Linked DNA regions of Homo sapiens: regions 1 and 3 are each linked to region 2. Evidence: promoter capture Hi-C in 16 types of primary human blood cells and fetal thymus (Javierre and others, 2016). All regions are on one chromosome and are shown on one strand. The core of a region is centred on a gene start or on the middle of the fragment in contact, and the rest is flanking DNA. Distances in the headings are between cores, read along the strand shown.

Evidence for each region. The method cuts DNA at HindIII sites, captures the fragments that hold promoters and counts their contacts. A CHiCAGO score of 5 or more calls a contact.
Region 1: a contact is called between a fragment that was not itself captured here and the fragment with the promoter of ENGASE in region 2, in 1 of 17 cell types (naive B cells). The highest score is 6.5, in naive B cells.
Region 3: a contact is called between a fragment that was not itself captured here and the fragment with the promoter of ENGASE in region 2, in 2 of 17 cell types (total B cells and naive B cells). The highest score is 6.9, in total B cells.

Annotation. Positions count from the first base shown.
Region 1 is chr17:79,414,988-79,417,687 of GRCh38, reverse strand. The region is part of intron 2 of RBFOX3 (RNA binding fox-1 homolog 3); the gene reads left to right. Among named protein-coding and RNA genes, the nearest start is that of RBFOX3, 190 kb to the left of the region's middle. The HindIII fragment of the contact is 1,646 bases long and covers 475-2,120 here.
Region 2 is chr17:79,073,380-79,076,079 of GRCh38, reverse strand. It overlaps ENGASE (endo-beta-N-acetylglucosaminidase), which reads right to left and starts at 1,256. Exons shown (of 14, transcript NM_001042573.3): 1 at 990-1,256. The coding sequence starts at 1,135. RefSeq lists a silencer at 855-1,394. The HindIII fragment of the contact is 10,832 bases long and covers 1-2,318 here.
Region 3 is chr17:79,367,436-79,370,135 of GRCh38, reverse strand. All of the region lies in intron 2 of RBFOX3 (RNA binding fox-1 homolog 3), which reads left to right. Among named protein-coding and RNA genes, the nearest start is that of RBFOX3, 240 kb to the left of the region's middle. The HindIII fragment of the contact is 5,229 bases long and covers 1-2,700 here.

The DNA of each region.
Region 1 (2,700 bases), core at 48-2,547, 340 kb before region 2:
CATCTGATTGTTTAAGGAACCGCCAAACCTTCCTTTTCCGCAGCAGCGGCGCCATCTTCCATTCCCACCAGCAATGCATGAGGGTTGCAACTTCCCCACACCCTCGCCAATGCCTTGTTATTTTCTGTGCTTTTGATAGCAGCCATCCTTATGGGTGTCGGGCAGCCCATTGGCTTGTAGTCAGGACTCTTCCCTGCCTGGTTGGGCATGTTCCTCTGAGAAAGAAAGGCCGTGGGGAACAGCTACTTTTCAACATCCAGGGACAAGCCAGGCCGCTGGTGCTCTCTGGAAGGGATTGTGACAGGGCCAGGGGTGTCCTCTCTGATGTCCTCAAGAACTGCAGAGCCAGGCCCCTTCTTTCCTGAGAGCTTCAGCTGAGGCACCCCTGAGCAGGAGTGAGTATTCTGCCTCTGACCAGGGGTTTTGGGAGAGGCTGAGGGGCTGAGAGACTCTTACGGGGAGCAAGGAGAAGCTTCTCTGCCTCTGTTATCTTCTCTCCTCTCCCCCAGGCTGTGCAGATGACATAGGCACAGTCACAGCCACTTCTCCCCTTTCCTGCCATCCTGGCAGAACACCTGGCTGCCCCTTCCACCCTGCCAGGAGAGATGTGCCCCTTATGCAGAGCTGGGGAGAGCGGCAGGGACAGGGTGGGGCCGCCTTTCCACTCCCTGCCATGCGAACCCTGCTGCAAACCATGCCAAGGGGCCTGGGGCTTACCAGGCAACTGTGGTATTCCTCGGATGCGGGTAAGGAACATGGGTCCTGCCCAACCTGCCAGCCAGGTGCAGCCAGCAGGAGGGAGAGCCGCATCCCCAAAACAGCACATCCCCTGGGCCCACAGTTTGCCCTGCAGACTTTCATGGCAAGGGGGCTGCTCTATTTGTGTTGCTTTAGATTCTAAAGGTCACAAAACAGCCAGCTGCGCTTGTCAGTACCAAGGGGTCAGCAATCGAGGCAGATAGATCCAAGGGGCTGCTGAAGCCTGAGTGGCAGCCCCATCCCAACCTGGAGGGGTGGGTGCGGGGGAGGGCCGGCCTCCACTTCTCCTGCAGCTTCTCTCCCCACAGGAGGCTACTGGGATTGGCCCCAGGGTTCACCTGCTGGCCCCCGTGGGAGAGCAAGTGTCTTCGCTCTCTCTGGTCACGCCATCGCAGGGGCCACACCAGAAGTGCTGGGCCACGTCGCTGTCTTGGATCCTGGAACCATTGGGCGTCCTTGATGGATAGTGGGGGCTGACAGTGAGAATGGGGACTGTGGTGCTATCCTTGCCCTATACTATGCCTAGCAGGAGAGCTGGCGGGTCTGCTAGGGAGGAGGCTTTGGGCTTGGCGGTGGGCAGAGCAGGAAGGGCTGGTTTGGCAGGGGCCATGGCCAAAGCACCTCAGACCAGAAGAGGGAGGGAGCTCTGGGTGCAGTAACTGCTCCCAGGTCCACTCCTTGACCGAGGGTTGCAGGTGATTCCAGCTGCTCCCGGGGAGGATTCCAGCTGTCCTTTGGCCCTCCCAGGTGAGCTGAGACCTGTCCGTGCAGGTGGCAGCCCTTGGCCTTGTGGGGGCACCTGTGGGCAGCCCTGCCCTGCCTGGGGGTGCTGGAAGGACTCCGTTGCACCACATGGACCCTGGAGTGCAGGCGAGAGGAAGAGGCGGCGGCAGAAGGAGGCAGCGCAGGCATGGCCTTTTCCAGCCTCCTCCTGGAATTCTGGGGCCCATGTCAGTGGAGAGGGGAGCAGAGACTCTCAGAGTCTGGGGGCGTCTGCAGGTGAGGAGGTGGGAGGGGCCTGCTCCAGTGTGTGGGCTCCCCTGGGGTCTGCGGCATGCTCAGAGACCCCTGCAGTCCCTCTCCCTTCCTCCACAGCCCCAGCACATGCAGGCTGCCATTTGCAGAGACCCCTCCTTATGACCCACACAGACTCTGCCTCCCCCAGGGCCCAGATGAAAGAAGAGTTTCACCTAAACGTCAGGCAGGGAGCCGACTCCGCCCCAGCCCCTCCCTCCGAGGACCTGCTCCCTGTGTGCCCATCGTAACTGAGCCGCATGCAATTGTGTGACTGTCCTGCCACTTGGCCATCTAGCTGCCCGCCCTGGTGGCCCCAGGAGCCGGCAGAGTGGCTTTGGAAAGCTTGGGGCTGCCTGCATGCACACACCACCAGAGGAGGGAGTTTCTCTCTCCTCCATCTGCGTCTGCCGTGCTGAAATACAAGAGCCGAGATGTCCAGGGCTTCCAAGTTTCCTTAGCTCTTCCACAGCCGCTAGGGTCGGCCTCAGGGGTGCACAGTGCCCCCTTCTCCCTGGGTGGGGGAGGGGAGGTACTCTGACCCCCAGGATCAAAAAATGGACCTTGGAGTATTTAGCCCCACACTTCATGTGGGGATCACTCAGGGTCCAGCCATGGGCAGCCTCCTAAAGGTGAGAGTCTGTGTGCCAGGGACTGGCTCTTTGGAACTCATCTGGGCTTAAACGAATACAAAGATTCTACCAGGTATTGCTGGGCCTCGGCCCAGGTACCTCGGCAAAGGCGGTCCTCGTAGGTGGCACCGGGCAGATTGCACCCCCAAGTGGTCTCAGAAGTCACTTGAACTCCCCAGACTCAGAACCCCGTGATGAAATTGCAGCCTGGTGGCCCTGGGATTGGTGTGAGTCTTTGTCCGCATGTGGACCGTGGCGATGAGCTGGGGAGGCTGCCCTGGGGAACAGACCTGTG
Region 2 (2,700 bases), core at 7-2,506:
ACCCAGGGCCTCCAGAATGACATTGGGAGACCCTGAGAACTGCAGGGGTCGGGGACGGATTCAAGCAGAGATGCCGCAGTTGTTCCTCTCCACCTTCCTTTTCCAAAGCCCCCTTCCTCGTTGATGTCCTTATTATACTTCAGCCACCCCCTCCCAGACCTTCTCAGAACAATCCCACACCAGGTCACCTTTGTCACCTGTCATTCCTCCACTAGGAGGGAAAGAGCCATCTCCACATTCCTCCTGTCCAAAAATATCTTTCCCAGCAGCCAGCCTTCATCCCATCTTCATGAGGTCTGAAATGCTCAGCAGTCTCACTGCTTTGGGTTTAGAAACAAAGCTACGGCTGCTGTTTCCGGAAGCCATGTCTGTGCTCCTAACTTCTCCCCCTGCAACCTACTGAGGGGGAGTTTACCGGGTGGGCAAGTGCCCCCCAAAGGAAGGAAGCCCAGCCCAGAGGGGCATGTTCGTCCCTTTCTGTCTCTGTGCTTTGGCCCTTTCTGTTCCCCGCCAGTTGGATACCCTACTCCCTATTCTCCACCTACTGAAGGCTTCCTCCTCCCCAAAGACTCAGTTCTAGTGTCACCCCTACAGAAGGCCACCCCTTCCACCAGCCGGCATCCACTGAGCCAGGCATGAGCACCGCCGCCGGGATCTTCCGCATAGACCAGCGACGTGGGAAGCAGGGGTCTGGCCGGGGCGTCGGGATTCCCGCTGGGCCCCGCGGCCACTCGGGTTTGCACCCGTATTTCTGAGATAGGCAGGGGTCACGCACGGGGGCCGGAGGCCGCTGCCCGGCAGTGGCGCGAGGACGGCGGGGCGGACCGGGGCGGAGGGGCGCTGCCACCCTCTGTCCCTTACTGTGCACGGAGCGGACACAGGCGCCGGCCCCCCGCCCCTCGGCGCGCCCGTGCCGGGAAACCTCGGGCCCCGGGGCCACGGACTCTCAGCCCCGCGGATCGGGGTTCACGCGGGCCCCGCAGCCCCACCTCCTTCCCGGCCGCCGCCGCCGCGGCCGCGGCTCCTGATCCTCCTGCTCCTCCTGCGTCCCCGCCTCCGGGGCCGCCAGCCCCTGCAGCTGCCGCCGCCGCCGCCGTGTAGCCGACCGGGTGACCGTCACCGCCGCGGCCTCCATGACACTGTCCGCGCACGCCGAGAGGCAATCGCAGGCCCGGGCCCGCCCCCGCGCCGCGCTCGGCCAATGGGAAGTGCGCAGCGCTGACGCCGCGCTGGGACGGGACTCCGAGCTGACTCCCGGCCAGCGGCCGCGCGGCGGGGACTTTGTTGAGGCGACAGGCCGGGGGCGGGGCCGAGGACGGGGCGGGGCTGTGAGGGGCGGGGCCTGGGCGAGTTCCGAGCCCAGGGTTCGTCGTCGTTCTTGTTGTTGCCCATCATTGGCTATGAGTCCAGGGTGCTAGAAGGCTCTAGAAGGCTTCGGAACGCCCCAATCTTAGAGTTCTCTCTTTAGCCTCACCAGCTTCCTTTGTCAAGCAAACCGAGGTTTATCCCAGAGAGATTAAGCAATCTCCCAGAGGGCACAAAGTCAGCAAATGGTGGCAATGAGATTTTAACTCATGCAGCTAACCCCTATTAAAAGATAATTTTCAGACCGGGCGCGGTGACTCACGTCTGCGATTCCAGCACTTTGGGAGGCCGAGGCGGGCGGATCACCTGAAGTCAGGAGTTCGAGACTACCCTGGCCAACATGGTGAAACCCCGTCTCTACTTAAAATACAAAAATTAGCCGGGCGTGGTGGTGCATGCCTGTAATCCCAGCTACCTGAGAGGCTGAGACTGGAGAATCGCTGGAACCCGGGAGGCAGAGGCTGCAATGAGCCGAGACGGTGCCATTGCACTCCAGCCTGGGCGACAGAGGGAGACTCCGTCTCAAAAAAAAAAAAAAAAAGATGAAAGGTTAGTAGGTTAGTATCGGGCCATGTGGAAGCTGGTGTCCTATGTAGGATGCATAGTTTTCCAGTGAAACACGGATTTCTTTCTACAGCCCCACGCCTGTGCCCAACAGTAGTAGTTGCTCTACCCCTAAGCGTGCAGGGCCTGGAGTGGCACCTCTGCAAGAGTGGCACTGCCCAGCGTCTTAGGCACAAAAGGAGTTCACAGGAAACATGATAGAACAGAGCCCTGAGAAGCCAGAACTCAAGGCTGGGCCCCACAGGGCAAACCAAGGCTCTCCTCCCTCCAGGCCCCAACGCCCCTCCACAGCTAGGAGCTTCCAGTGCTGGGCTGCAGCTGCCGCCCAAGCCAAGTTGACTGGGCCTTTATTATTGTTGCAGACTTTGAACTTTATGAGGCTCCAAGCTTCCATAAACGCCAATGGTGGGAACTATGACTAAGGTTGTTGAATATGGGCCATGGTGCAGGCCAGCCAGTTAGGCAGGAAGGACGGGCCACTCAGAAGCAGGACACGCTGACCCATGGGGAGGACAGAGAAGGCAGAGGGCTCCTCTTTGGGGCTTCAGTCCTGGGAAGCTTACAGTGAGCGAGGGCAGTGGATCCCCAAGTTCCCTCCTGCTGTGTTCAGGGGTGCACCGGACGTGGACAGTCTTGATCTGGGGTGCATGTAACCAGGTGTTCCCAAGCCCTCACCTGCAGCTTAGCAATAAAAATAGATAAACTTTCATCCTACCCAGGTTAGAACACAGTTCTAAGGGATACTTTGAACAGCCTTTGGGTAATGCTCAG
Region 3 (2,700 bases), core at 164-2,663, 290 kb before region 2:
TGGTGATGATGGGGTTGGCACCAAGACCTGGTCACCACAGAGCAGGGAGCATCAGGAAGGGCTGGAAGCCAGCGAGGCCCCAGGTGTGAACTCCCTTGCTGGCCAAGAGCCTTCTCTTTGGTGGGATCCCAAACTCCATCTAACGAAGGGCGTCTGGTGGGGCTTAGAGGAGAAATGTGCACCTGCAGCCCAGTGCTCACCCTCAGCCAAGGCCACTCTGCACCGACGTAGCTGGAATTCTCTCTCCGTGGGAGCTTCTTTGAGAGGGAAAGAGGGGACAGGAGGGACAAGGCCAGGGGATAGACACTCAGATGTTTGACCAAATCTCCATCCATCAGGGCGGGCAGATGATCTTTCCCGAGGCTGCAGAGAGAGCCTGAGCTGGGGTGGCACCAGGAGCTGCAGGACCTGAAAGGCCCTCTAGGGAGAGGGGAGGCAACAGCAGTGAAGAATCACCTGGAGACACACGTGGGCTCCCAAGGCCATTGCGGGCAGAACTGACCAAGATGGTGGTGGCAGGGGAGCGGCTTTCAACGCTAACCAGAGCAACACCAACCATGCCCCAGAACACACACCCAGAGTTTGGGGTGGCAGGAAGGGAAAGGCCTGGGAGGAGGCGCCTTGTGTATGCCTGGTGTTCGAGGGGATCCCCAGACAAGCCCTGTCTTGCTAAGGCCATTTGAGTTCTGGGGGTGAAAACAGCAAACCCTCCGAAACGCGTGTCCTTTGCCCCCAGCAGTCACGGCAAGGGTCACGGTCAGGGTCCAGGGCAACCCCTCTGGTGAGCCCCCATCAGCCCCTCCCCGGGGAGTGGGGGCAGACTGTGGTAGAAACTCCGGTGCCTTTGGGTACAGATGTGGAGGTGGCGCCGTGCCTGGGGAGGTGGGAAGATGGTGTTGGCACCCGGTGCCACAGGTCAACCCCGGCTGATGGGCAGCCCCTCCCCACCCAGAGTTGCCCGTTGCTCGTGTGCTTGGAGAGTGGCACAGTGCCACCGGATGCCCACCAGCTGCACTGGGCGCAGTGAGACAGCTCAGAGCAGATGCCCCCAGGCTGTCCAGGGGTGGCAGAGCTGGTGTGGTTGGAGCCCCTCCTCGCTCTCCTTGTGTGGTGGGCCGTGGGCTGGATAGCAGGCGGCGGTGAGCGAGTGACTGGGATCTGCCTTTTCCTGCCTTCGTGAAGCCCATGGCTGCATCCTGTCATGGGCCCTGTGTGGGCCATCTCCTGCCATCAAAAAATAGTGAAAAGTAGATTTTGCCACAGTGTGGATACAAAGACAAAAGCATCGTTGGCCCTTAAAGTTCATTTTATCTTCTCATTTTAAAAGAAATCATGACATTTCCATGGCCCTAATGGTGTCAGCCCTGGCTGAGGATCAACCTCCCGGACACCCGTGTGTCTGGCTGGAGGGAGGCTGAGCGTGGGGCCTCGGACCAGCATCGGGCTGGTGTGCGAGGACCTCTGGGTTGGTTGCTGCTTGGAATCTGGTCAGCTCTTCCAGCACCTTCTCGGATGGTAACAATCCAGGGAGTGGTGTCTTTCATGGCAACATGAGGTCACCCACCCACGGGCTTCTCAATTGTCCTGCAGAGGAACTGAGACCAAGGCAGCAGGTGCGGGGAACCGGTGGAACCCACGACTGACTCCCAAGTGTGGCATTTTTGTCCATCTGCAAATGCGGGCGTCCTAGGTTTGGAAATGAACACAGTTCAAATAGCATTGTGAAGCCACATTGGGAAACCCAGATGCAGGACAGCACGCAGGATCCTGGCTTCCTGGTCCCCCACCTGGATGGTGTGGCCTGGCTACAGCCCCAGGCTGGTGGAGGGGGAGGTCTCTCCTCAGCTGCTGCTCCTACTGGACCCCTCATCTTTGCAGCTCCCTTTGCTTTAGATAAGGCTCAGCCCTTCTGCAGAATGACGTGGGCACGGCTGTGGAGAGGGGAAAAGTTGTTCTGTAAGAGAACCCATCCCGTGGGATCCCGTGGAAGGAAAGACAGGGCCAATGCGTAATAAAGGATGGTGTGGACAGGAACTTCTGTCCCCACGCCTCTTAATCTCATTAGCAGGAAATGAAAGCAAATCCCATTGGGACTAACCTTGCCATGTGCTGAGAATCTCCTGTAAGAATTTCAGGTGTCCCTGACCCTCGGTTGTTGTTTGTCTTTGGCTGAAGTTAATTCCCCAGCCCTGAATGCACACAGAGTCATGCCGGGATGTCCCAGACATTCGGAGGCAGGAGAAACCCATTCATAGTGAACGATTGTCGGTGGATTGTCCACAGTGTCTGCCTTCAGGTGAGCAGCCTTCCTGGGGGGCCAGGCGGGCTCTGATTCCTCCTCTGTCACATACCTTGGCTGCCACAGAGACCCCCCAAAAGAGCTGCCTGTCCGGCCCACCATGACACCCACTGGCCGTGGCTCCCTTTGCCTGTCCTCCCCGGAGGGGTGGATGGTAGTGCCATTTTCTCCTCTGCTGCATCCCGTAGTAGGTGGCTGGGGAAATATTTTCAAGTTACTGGCTGGGAGTAAATCTGACTTTTGCAATCTAAACCTTAAAACCAGGGAAAGCGGACTCTTCTTACTGTGTGTCTTCTCTTGTCTCGGTCTCTCCTGACACCTGTAGCCCAGAGCTCATGAGTGCTCATCGCTAACTGCTGGGTGATACATGCATGAATCTGGCCAATGTGATTTGCGTTTTG